2 separate regions of the Homo sapiens genome follow, and region 1 is linked to region 2. The links are contacts of gene promoters, found by promoter capture Hi-C in human tissues and cell types (Jung and others, 2019). All regions are on one chromosome and are shown on one strand. The core of a region is centred on a gene start or on the middle of the fragment in contact, and the rest is flanking DNA. Distances in the headings are between cores, read along the strand shown. Region 1 holds the start of LOC124902716 (a long non-coding RNA gene). Region 2 holds the start of NEU3 (neuraminidase 3).

The links. The method cuts DNA at HindIII sites, captures the fragments that hold promoters and counts their contacts. A contact is called where the count stands out against the background at its distance.
Region 1: a fragment that was not itself captured here is called in contact with the fragment with the promoter of NEU3 in region 2 in 2 of the 25 tissues and cell types used here (dorsolateral prefrontal cortex and mesenchymal stem cells).

The regions. Positions count from the first base shown.
Region 1 is chr11:75,207,868-75,212,889 of GRCh38, forward strand. It overlaps TPBGL-AS1 (TPBGL antisense RNA 1), which reads right to left. Exons shown (of 6, transcript XR_950308.4): 5 at 2,495-2,540; 6 at 1-266. LOC124902716 (a long non-coding RNA gene) reads left to right here and starts at 2,956. Exons shown (of 2, transcript XR_007062782.1): 1 at 2,956-3,141. The HindIII fragment of the contact is 3,195 bases long and covers 1,157-4,351 here.
Region 2 is chr11:74,985,612-74,990,576 of GRCh38, forward strand. It overlaps NEU3 (neuraminidase 3), which reads left to right and starts at 3,322. Exons shown (of 3, transcript NM_006656.6): 1 at 3,322-3,543. The coding sequence starts at 3,450. RefSeq lists enhancers at 3,072-3,121, 3,402-3,591. The HindIII fragment of the contact is 16,586 bases long and covers 1-3,462 here.

The DNA of each region.
Region 1 (5,022 bases), core at 1,504-4,003, 220 kb after region 2:
AGAACTCAGCGACATCCTCACCATTGCCTGGAGGTGTTGAATTCTTTCCCCTTCACATACCTTTGCTTATGCTGTTCCCTCTGACCTGGGTTATCTTCTTCATCCCCATCGCACAGCTTGTCTCTCCATCCCCACTTCATAAAGTCCTACCCAATCTTCCAGGCCCAGCTCAAAGGCCACCAACTCCAGGAAGGCAACATGGTATAGGCAATGGGGGGCAAGTGAAAACCACCTCTGGGGATCCAATCAAAGGCATAGACTCTCCACTAAATATAAAACAAAACACACACACAGAGACATATACACAATTGTGCATATGATTTCAGAGGTTGAAGACCATATGATGCCTGGGTGTAGACCTCCTAAGCATCCCAGGTCCCCAGTCAAAAGCCCTTAATGGAGTGAAAAGATTATAGAGTTGTGGAGAGAGTCAGACTTGGGATCAAATCTTGACTCTGCCACTTATTACAGTGTGACGATGAACAAATGATTTAACCTCTCTGCACCTCAGTTTGCTCACCTGCAAGTGAGGTTGAGCATGCCTAGCTCCTATCTCCCAGAAGCTGTGAGGACCGGGTAAGATCATGTACATGCTCACAGGCACCACACCTGATGATCAGGATTTGTAAGCTCCCTTCCCCTTCTGTCCCTGAAAAAATTTCATAAACACATAGAGCATCAGAGTCGGAGGGGGAAGTGACAACAGAGGGAGGAACACACCTCCTTTGCCCTACCCTGGCCACAGCTCCGTTGTCCCCAATCTCTCCTCCACTGTCAGCCAGGGCTCAGCCAGCCCAGTCTTATCTCTCCCCACAGCCAGCTTGGGACAGCTTTTCTCAACCAGATTTACATTTTTATTGATTTTCTTTCTCCCTCCTAGAGCAGTCCCTCCCTTCTACTTCCCCTTTGGCTATCAAATGGGCTTACCCTGGGAAACAGCAGTTCTAGGGCTGGCCAAGAAGTGATGGTTCAAGGTTGGATTCATTCACCCTTCCTTCCTTCATTCATTCAGCCACTCACATGAGCAACACATATCCTACATGTCTGCTCTGTGCCCTTCTCCTGGCATTGCTGGGGACACAACCATGTGTCAGATACAGTCTCTACTCAGGAAACTCTCAGTGTAAACAGACGACAAACAGTAACAAAAGCATGAGTAGTCATACAGGAGAGGGAAGAAGAGGAAGCCAAGGACTCTTCCTGGGGCCAATAGGGAAGGCTTCCAAGAGGTTATATCAGACCTGGTGTTAAGGATTAGGCAGGACTTCCTCAAGTGGACAAGGTGGAAATGGGCAGGAAAAACAACAGGACGAGCAAAGATAGAGAGAGGTGTGTCTGAGATACAGTGACAAGAGCAATGTGGCTGGAGGGCACTGCATGTGCAGGGCAATCAGGAGACAGAAGAGAGCAGAGGCTGGAAAGACCAGCAGGGACCAAGCATGGAGACCCAGCTGAAGGTGTGGATGCTTCCCTGAGGGCAAGGAGGAACCCCTGAAGCACTGATTGATGGATTATTCCATTGGCCAGTTATTTTAAGCAGGGAGTGACATGACAAGATTTGCATTTTGGAAAGGCCGCTGGTTGCACCATGGGGGCTTTGAGTGGAAAAGAGAAGCTGAAGGCCAAGAGCTCAGGCAGGGGGCAGGTGCAACAATCAAGAGAAGTAGGAGGACTACAGCCAGGTCAGGAGAGGCATCCTAGAAGTGGGATATCTAAGGTCAGTCTTGAAAGACGAGTGGGAATGCACCAGGAAGAGAAGTTGGGAAGGGTGTCAAGGCAGAAGAAACTGCACAGACAAAGTAGACAGAAACCTCCTGGCAGGCTTGGGGTATTTCCACTAGTTTAGCAGGGCTGCAGCATGGCCTAAGAGAGAAGGCATGGAGAGGGTGAGGCTGAAGAAAGTGGGTTGATGCTCTCAATGCCACTCAGTGTTGTCCACCTCCCGAACCTAGCCCCAGGTGAGAGAGGAGAGGGAGCCCTCACCTCTGTACAGAGGTGGCTGTACAGGTCTGAGCCCTAGGTCAGGGGTGCTCCTTAGTCCAAACACACCTTTTAGTGTTCACTACATTTCACATTTTACACAGTCCCTTTACACCCCGTCCTCATGGTTTCCTGGTGAAGAAGGCAGGAAAGGGATTATTATTGCCATGTAGTAGGTAAAGAAACTGAGGCCCAGAAAAGTGCAGAAACTTGCCCAAGGTCACTCAAGAGCCCAGGTATCCCCCTCCTAAGGCTCCCATGTTGTTGCTAATAAACCTACTTGTCCCTGAATCACATATGTACAATAGATGTAGTAAGTGCTAACTAATGTGGTTGGGATGAAAAAAGGGGGGAGGAGAGAAAACACATCAGAGAAAGAGGTTTCCTTTTTATGTCCCCATTTCCTCAGCCTTCATCCTGCAGCTGGGGACATTCCAGCTGGGAAAACAGAACCCAGGTCCCTCTGCTTTGGAATCCAACAGACAGGAAGGTCAATCCAAGCTCTGCCACTTACCAGGCATGGGAAGTCACTGCACTCATCGGAGCATTGGTTTTCTCATCTGTAAAAGGGATAAATAAGCTTCACCTATCAGAATCGTTGAGAGGATTTAATGTGATAAAGTAGCAATATAGTAATCTACTACTGAGTAATAAATTTTCTGGCTGACACAGTGGCTCAAACCTGTGATCCCAGCCATTTGGGAGACTGAGGCAGGAGGATCACTTGAGCCCCAGAGTTTGAGACCAGCCTGGGCAACACAGTGAGGCCCCATCTCTCCAAAAAATAATAATAATAATAAAAAGAAACTTAGCCAAGGGTGGTAGCACCCACACCTGTAGTTTCAGCTACTTGTAAGGTTTAGGTGGGAGGATTGCTTGAGCCCAGGAAGTCAAGATTGCAGTGAGCAGTGATTGTACTACTGCATTCCAGTCTGGGTAACAGAGCAAGGCCCTGCCTCAAAAAACCCCCCAAAACCAAAAAATAAATTTTCCCAAAGTTTAGCAACTTAAAACAACAAATATTTATTATCTCATAGAATTTCTGAGGGTCAAGAACCCACAGATGGGCTAACTGGAAGGTGCTGGATCTTCATGAGGATTTCTGATGAAGTTGTAGTCAAGCATCAGCCAGGGCTGCAGTCATCAGAAGGCTCAACTGGGGTGAGAGGATCCACTTCCAAGTTCATTCGATGATTGCTGTTGGGCCTCTGTACCTTGTTGGCAGTTGACCAAAAGCTTTGATTCCATGTGCCTTTTATGATCTAATATTGGAAGAAACATACCGTAACTTTTGCCATATTCTCTTGGTCATGTAGACAAACCCTGGTATAATGTGGGAGGGGAATACAAAAAGGCATGAATACCAGGGGGTATGGATCATTGGGAGCCATTTGGAAGCTGGCTACAACAAGCACTCAGACCAGTGCCTGACACACAGTAGGTACTTATTCATTAGTCGCTGCTATAACTCTTGCAATGACCTATCACAGCCTGGTTGAGAAGATAAGATCTGGACATGATAAGGTGAGAAATCTTTGGCAAAGTGAAATGTAACTTGAATTAAACAATGTTCAATTACATTAGAAGAGGGTGTGCCGGACAAGGCCCTGGCAACCAGGGAAGACTTCCTGGCGGAGATGGAGAGGAGGTAGGAGGGCAATCCAGAGAGAAAACAGAAGATGAGTATGGCAGGTTGTATTGGTTGCCTTCCCATGGCAAATGCTCTCTTCTTCATTCTGGTAGCAAGGTGCTCAGCCACAGGGATGATCCAAGGCAGCAATGGAAATGCCTTCCCCTTTGCCAGAAAGTGGTCCAAGAGTAGACATGTGACCTCGTCTTAGTCAATGACATGTTTGGGGATAGTCTGCTGGGAAAGCTTCTCTCCTGGATAAGAGAATGATGTGAAGGGAGAATACCCTTTTTGCTACCATGCCCTTTCTCCCTGCTTGGGAGGACATGGTTCCTGATGGCACTCAGTCATCTTGCAATCACAGGGGTAGTCACCCTCGAGGCTCAGAATGGGAAATGCCTGGGTCATCAAAGACATTGTTGAATCAGCAGACCAATCCTCATTCCAACTTCTTCTGGCCTCATTAAAAAATAAAAAGTTTAAGCCACTCTAAAGCAGGTGACCTCTTCCTTGCATCCTAAATGATTCAGTGAGAAAAGTATCCTGGTTCCCTCTGGGACTATTTTCTTTTTCTGAGGAAGACAGAGGGAAGAGTGGAATGGGAAAGGGCCCAGGCTGGGAGGCAGGCGTCCTTGGTCTAACCCCAGCTCTGCCTCTGAGTTGCTGTGTGATCTTGAGCAAGTCCCTTCTCCCCTGGGCCTCCAATGATTACAGCTAATATTTATTGGCTGTTTACTGTGTGCCCAGTGCTCTTCTAAGAGCTTCCCTTGCATCATCTCATTCAATCTTCACAACACCTCTGTTATGTCAGTATCACTATTATCTTTATTTTAGGGATAAGGAGACTGAGGCCCAGAAACTTGAGGTCCAGGATCCTGACTATAAAGCCATATTGCCTAGCAGTAAAAGGAAGTATCCAGACAAGGTGACCTCTAAGGGCCTCTTAAGCTCAAATATTCTTTCATTTGCTGTCCCATTTCTAGCTACATGATCAACAAGCCAGCTTAGCCTAGAGAAAAAAGAAATAAGGGCTGTCTTTAGACATCTGAAAAGCTGTCACGTGAGCAGGAGATTAGACTTACTCGGGGTAGCTCAGAGGACATGAACTGGACCAGTGTGGGAGCATGATAGGGAGATAGAGTGCAACTTATATAAGGGAGAATTTTCTAGCACAATTTGGCAGGCGGCAGAGCTATGCCCAGATGTGATGACTCCCACGTCATAAAGGTTATGCAAGCTTGTGTTTGATAACGCAGTATTACTGACAAAGGTTTGAGCAGGTATGGGACTGAATGGCATAAGACTTGTGGTAGAAATTAAATGGGATAACATATGAGATTACTCCTAACATCATGACCAGTGCAAATAGACAGGATCAATAAATTATTGGGTTCTTTTTTTCCTTTTTAACA
Region 2 (4,965 bases), core at 2,072-4,571:
TCAGCATATATGACTAAGATTTATTCTTCGATAAAATAAGGACACATCTGGATCATAAGGGAAAAGGACACTGGCAGAGTCTGGAGGAATCCATTTGCAGGCTTCCTTATGCTCTTCCTCCCATGAGGGATTGCAAAGAGCCCACTTTGCCCCAACAACAAAAATGCAGCAACACGTGTGTAATGTTTCTGTCCAGGGAGCCCATTAGAGAGTACCCACAGTTTATTGAGGTTTGGTCATGTGGGCACCATCTGCCTAGCACATAATAAAGACTCCTAGAAAGCAAGCAGGTATCCACCATAAATCATACTGCAATCAAACAGTCTACATAGTCAACTACCCTTTTCAGTTAACTGGTGACTGGGAACACTTTGAGAGCCAAGTTTCCAGACACCTGTCAAAAAACACCAACCTTGCAAGCAGGCCTTCCTAAGGATAACCTGTTAGGCCTGCTATGGTAAATCTGCACAAGTACCATTCTCTCTGTATTGTGCAACTTGCTTTTTTGTTCAATATTTTGTTTGTGAAGATAATTTAGATTGATACCTGTAGCTACAATTTATTCTATTTCACTGCTGTATACTGTTAAACATGACAGTTTATTTACCCTATTAATGGACATTTAGGTCTTTTATAATTTTTCACTATTAAACATTTGCTGCTATGAGCATTCTTGTATGGACACATCTAATACAGGTAGTGGGATTCCTTGGTGGGAGAGGATATACATTTTTACTTTTCTAGGTATTGCTAAATTTTCCTCTAAAGCGACTGTACCAATTTACATTCCTTCTATTAATGAAGGAAATACAAGATTGGAATAATTGGGATAGTTGTGTTATCTTTGTGAATAGATTTTAAAATACTGATTTAGATTTTTAAATAGTTGTAAGACTTCACATTTTCCATATCTTAGTTTGGTAACTTTTTCTAAAACTGTATTAACTTTATCTAGATTTTCAAACTTAAGGAATAAAGTTTGTTTAATATTTATTTCTCATCTCTGTTGTATCCCTGCATATAGTCTCCTTTTCATTAATATCATTTATAACTTTTAAAAATGAGTCTTGCCAGAGGGTTTGTCCGGTTTATTAGATATGTCAAGACTAATATTTGCTTTTGTCAGTCCCCTCTATTGTACTTTGCTTCTTGTTTCATTTATTCTGTTCTTATTTTCATCATTTCCTTTTCTACCTTTTTGGGATTTATTCTGTTCTTCCTTTTCTACATTCTTAAGTTAGATCCTTAACTCATTACTGTTTTGTTGTTCTTATCTCCTGGTATAGGGTCTTTATTTGAGTTCTCCCAGAGGCAAGTTCTGAGACCAGGACCTGAGGGCAATAGTATATGTGAGAGATGCAGGGAGTGCCATAATGAGGTGGGAAAGTAGGAAGGGAAGAAAAGGTGAGCAATAAGGGTGTAGCTTTTAGTAGCTATTGATAATTGCTGTCTAGATTCATTAAATTCATTTTGTCATTAAAGGACAAAATGATGAAATTCTATCATTCATTTGGCATTGGTCAGTTAATTATTTTATGAAGGAGAACTTTTCCCCATCAACTATTTAGTTACCCAGAAATAGGGTTTGTACAGGAAAGGCAGAATAAAAAGCTGCTTTCCTTAGCAAACTCTGAGGTGACCAAAGTGACATTTTTCTCCATATGTCGATATGAACTTTCTTTGCAGTCCTTGTTCTTTTTGATGTTCTAATTTTTCCATATTTGGCCAGTGGAATCACCTTCAAATTGATTCTTACCTTCTTTTGACATGACCTGAAATAGTCTTTTATGGCTTTCTTGCTTTCTGTTAAGATGTTCTAGGCTAATCTTATAAATTTTCTTCCCTGCACCTAAAATCAGCCATTTTTTTCATGGAACCCTGGTTCCTTTGGGGACAAAATAGTATTTTAAGACCCATTATTGCCAGGCGCGGTGGCTCACGCCTGTAATCCCAGCACTTTGGTAGGCCGAGGCGGGCGGATCACGAGGTCAGGAGATCGAGATCATCCTGGCTAACATGGTGAAACCCCGTCTCTATAAAAAATACAAAAAATTAGCCGGGCGTGGTGGTGGGCGCCTGTAGTCCCAGCTACTCGGGAGGCTGAGGCAGGAGAATGGCGTGAACCCGGGAGGCGGAGCTTGCAGTGAGCCAAGATGACGCCACTGCACTCCAGCCTGGGCGGCAGAGACACACTCCATCTCAAAAAATAAAAATAAAAATAAAAAAGACCCATTATTTGGGCTTATTACGATGAGTTGGTCTCTGGTTCTAGGCCTTTTTTTTTTTCTTTTTTTTTTTTTTTTTTTTAGAAAAATACAGCAGGTTGTATTGAGGTTGGCACCTATGTTCTTTCAAAGAACCCTCATCATTTTGTGAGTTCTTTCCTTGTGGCACCACGATGTTCCAGGCTCATCTTGTATGTTCCCTGCCTCAGCACAGGATTTTTTTTAATGAGAAAAATATCACGAATTCAAATTTACAGAAGCTTTACATTTTTATGTCCTCTAAGTTAGCAGTCTGTCTTTCCTTTTATTGGCGTTTGTAAAATTTCTTCTTTTTAAAATTGTTATATTTTAGAGACAGGGTCTCGCTCTGTCACCCAGGCTGGAGTGCAGTGGTGCAATCACAGCTCACCACAGCCTCCAACTCCTGGGCTCAAGGCATCCTCCCACGTAGGCCTTCCAAAGCGCTGAGATTGTAGGCATAAGCCACCAGGCCCAGCCTATTACCTTTACGTTGTACTTAGTCCCAGATAAAAAATGACCTTAGATCAGTCCTTTCCTCTTTGGCTGGGGAGAGGGGGGCTTAAATTCCGGTACTGTGAAACAGAAGAATGGACTCAGTGCTATGTGACAAATCTATGTATGTAAATGTGTGTATATACACACACATAAATTATATATATGAATATATTTTCATTTTCATATTTTGCAAGGAGAGTAGCCAATGCTCTGGACCTCTGGTCCTTTTTGTAGGGTACCCTCTGAGGCCGGGAACCTTTGCTCAACTCTCAGGCTGTCCAGGGAAGCTTTAGGCGGTGATACCGAGCTACAGACCAATATAAGAGCTCGGGGCTGTGGCACTGAAGAGAGGAGGCGGCCGTTGGGAACTGAGGTGGGCCCAGGGCTTGAGCTGAGTTGGCGAGGGTGGAGGTGGTGCCGGTCCCACGCCGTGGTGGGGACCGAGCTGCGGGCTGGAGGGAGGGGCAGCGCCGAGGGGGCGGGACGGGGAGGGCTCGCGGAGTAGGCCAACGGTTGGCCCCAACCGCCACTGACTACAGCCTGCGCCCGCCTCTTTTCGTTGCCGTTACCTGTTTCCGGCAGTCGACACGCTCTTCGCTTCTCGGGGCTTGTCTCCGTGTCCTCCGTCTCAGTTGTTTCTCCCTCTCTATCCTCCTCTGTCTCAGTCTCCCCAGCCTTGGGGCCGGTGCCTCTTCCGGGCTTCGGCGAATGAGACCTGCGGACCTGCCCCCGCGCCCCATGGAAGAATCCCCGGCGTCCAGCTCTGCCCCGACAGAGACGGAGGAGCCGGGGTCCAGTGCAGGTGAGCGGGGTTGGGAGACAGGAGAGCTCCCCGAGGAGGACTCAACTGTGGGGACAGGTTGAGCAAGACCATCTGCGTTTGGGAAATCCAGCCTTGGATTATTGAGACAGAGCCACCTAGTCGGCTAGGATCTGACCTGGCCAGAGAATTCTTGGCTAGTCCTATTTTTATTCGTTCTCACAGAAGCCGAACTTAAACCTCAGAATTATCACTCCAGAGATGAAAGGGAACTGAGACTGGAAAAGCCCTGCTTACCAAAGGTCTCTGGGCGGCAGAAAGAGCCCTGAGCTTCAGTTTCAACTTAGGAGACCTGGGTCTTGGTCCAGATTTTACTGTGGAGTGGCGTTCAGTAAGCTTTGTCCCCATCCCGGGCCCGAGTTTTCCCATCTATACCATGAGAGGGTTTAGACTACAGATCTTCAAAGGTCTGGCACGTGGTAGGTGCTCCTTAAATATTACTTGTTAGGAGTGAATAAATGAGATAGGAAGGCCTCCTGGGATTCACTGGAGGCTCATTGGGTTAGTTGGAGGCTGTGGAATTACATTATTATAGTCTGAGAAGTAGGCGGTATTATCTCCATTTTATAAGTGAGGAAACTGAAGCTCAGAAGTAAAGTGACTTGCTAGTAAGTGTCAAAGATAAGTCAGACTTCAGAGTCCATGCTAGGCTATACTCTCTCCCAGTAAGAAAGCGGGAAGGACTTGATGGGAAAGTGATTATATCGAGCAGCAAGTAATCATTTGAATTCTCTGCTTAAATGAACCCCAGAGCAGGCCCATATCTGATTATTTTCTATCCCGTTTCCAGCACCTGATTTGTGTGAAACGTTTTGGGTGGCAATGCCAGAATCACCATCTATATTACTTCTGTCATCAACACGATCAGCATAATTACAAAAATTAATGGCTCTAATTGTTATAGTGATAATAAAGCATAAATGAAATTGTGAGGACATCAAAATTTATAATTAAAGACACCTATTAAAACAGCAGTTTAAAATTTATAAAACACTTTTGAGTGGTTCTTCATATTGATCTGCTTAGGTAGGTATTATTATCCATAGTTTACAAGCAAGGAATCCAAGACCTAGAGGTTGAGTAACCATCAAAACGTCATGCAGCAAGAAATGGAGCTGAGACTTGAATCCAGCCCATGTGACAAGTTGTGCTTCTCCTTTGGTGATTATTTCCCTATTTCCTCTCCATTTCCTTTTTTTTTTGAGATGGAGTCTTGCTGTGTCACCCAAGCTGGAGTGCAGTGGTGCAGTCTCGGCTCACTGCAACCTCCGTCTCCTGGTTTCAAGTGATTCTCCTGCCTCAGCCTCCCGAATAGCTGGGATTACAGGTGGATGCCACCATGCCTGGCCAATTTTTTTTGTATTTTTAGTAGAGATGGGGTGTCACCATGTTGGCCAGGGTGGT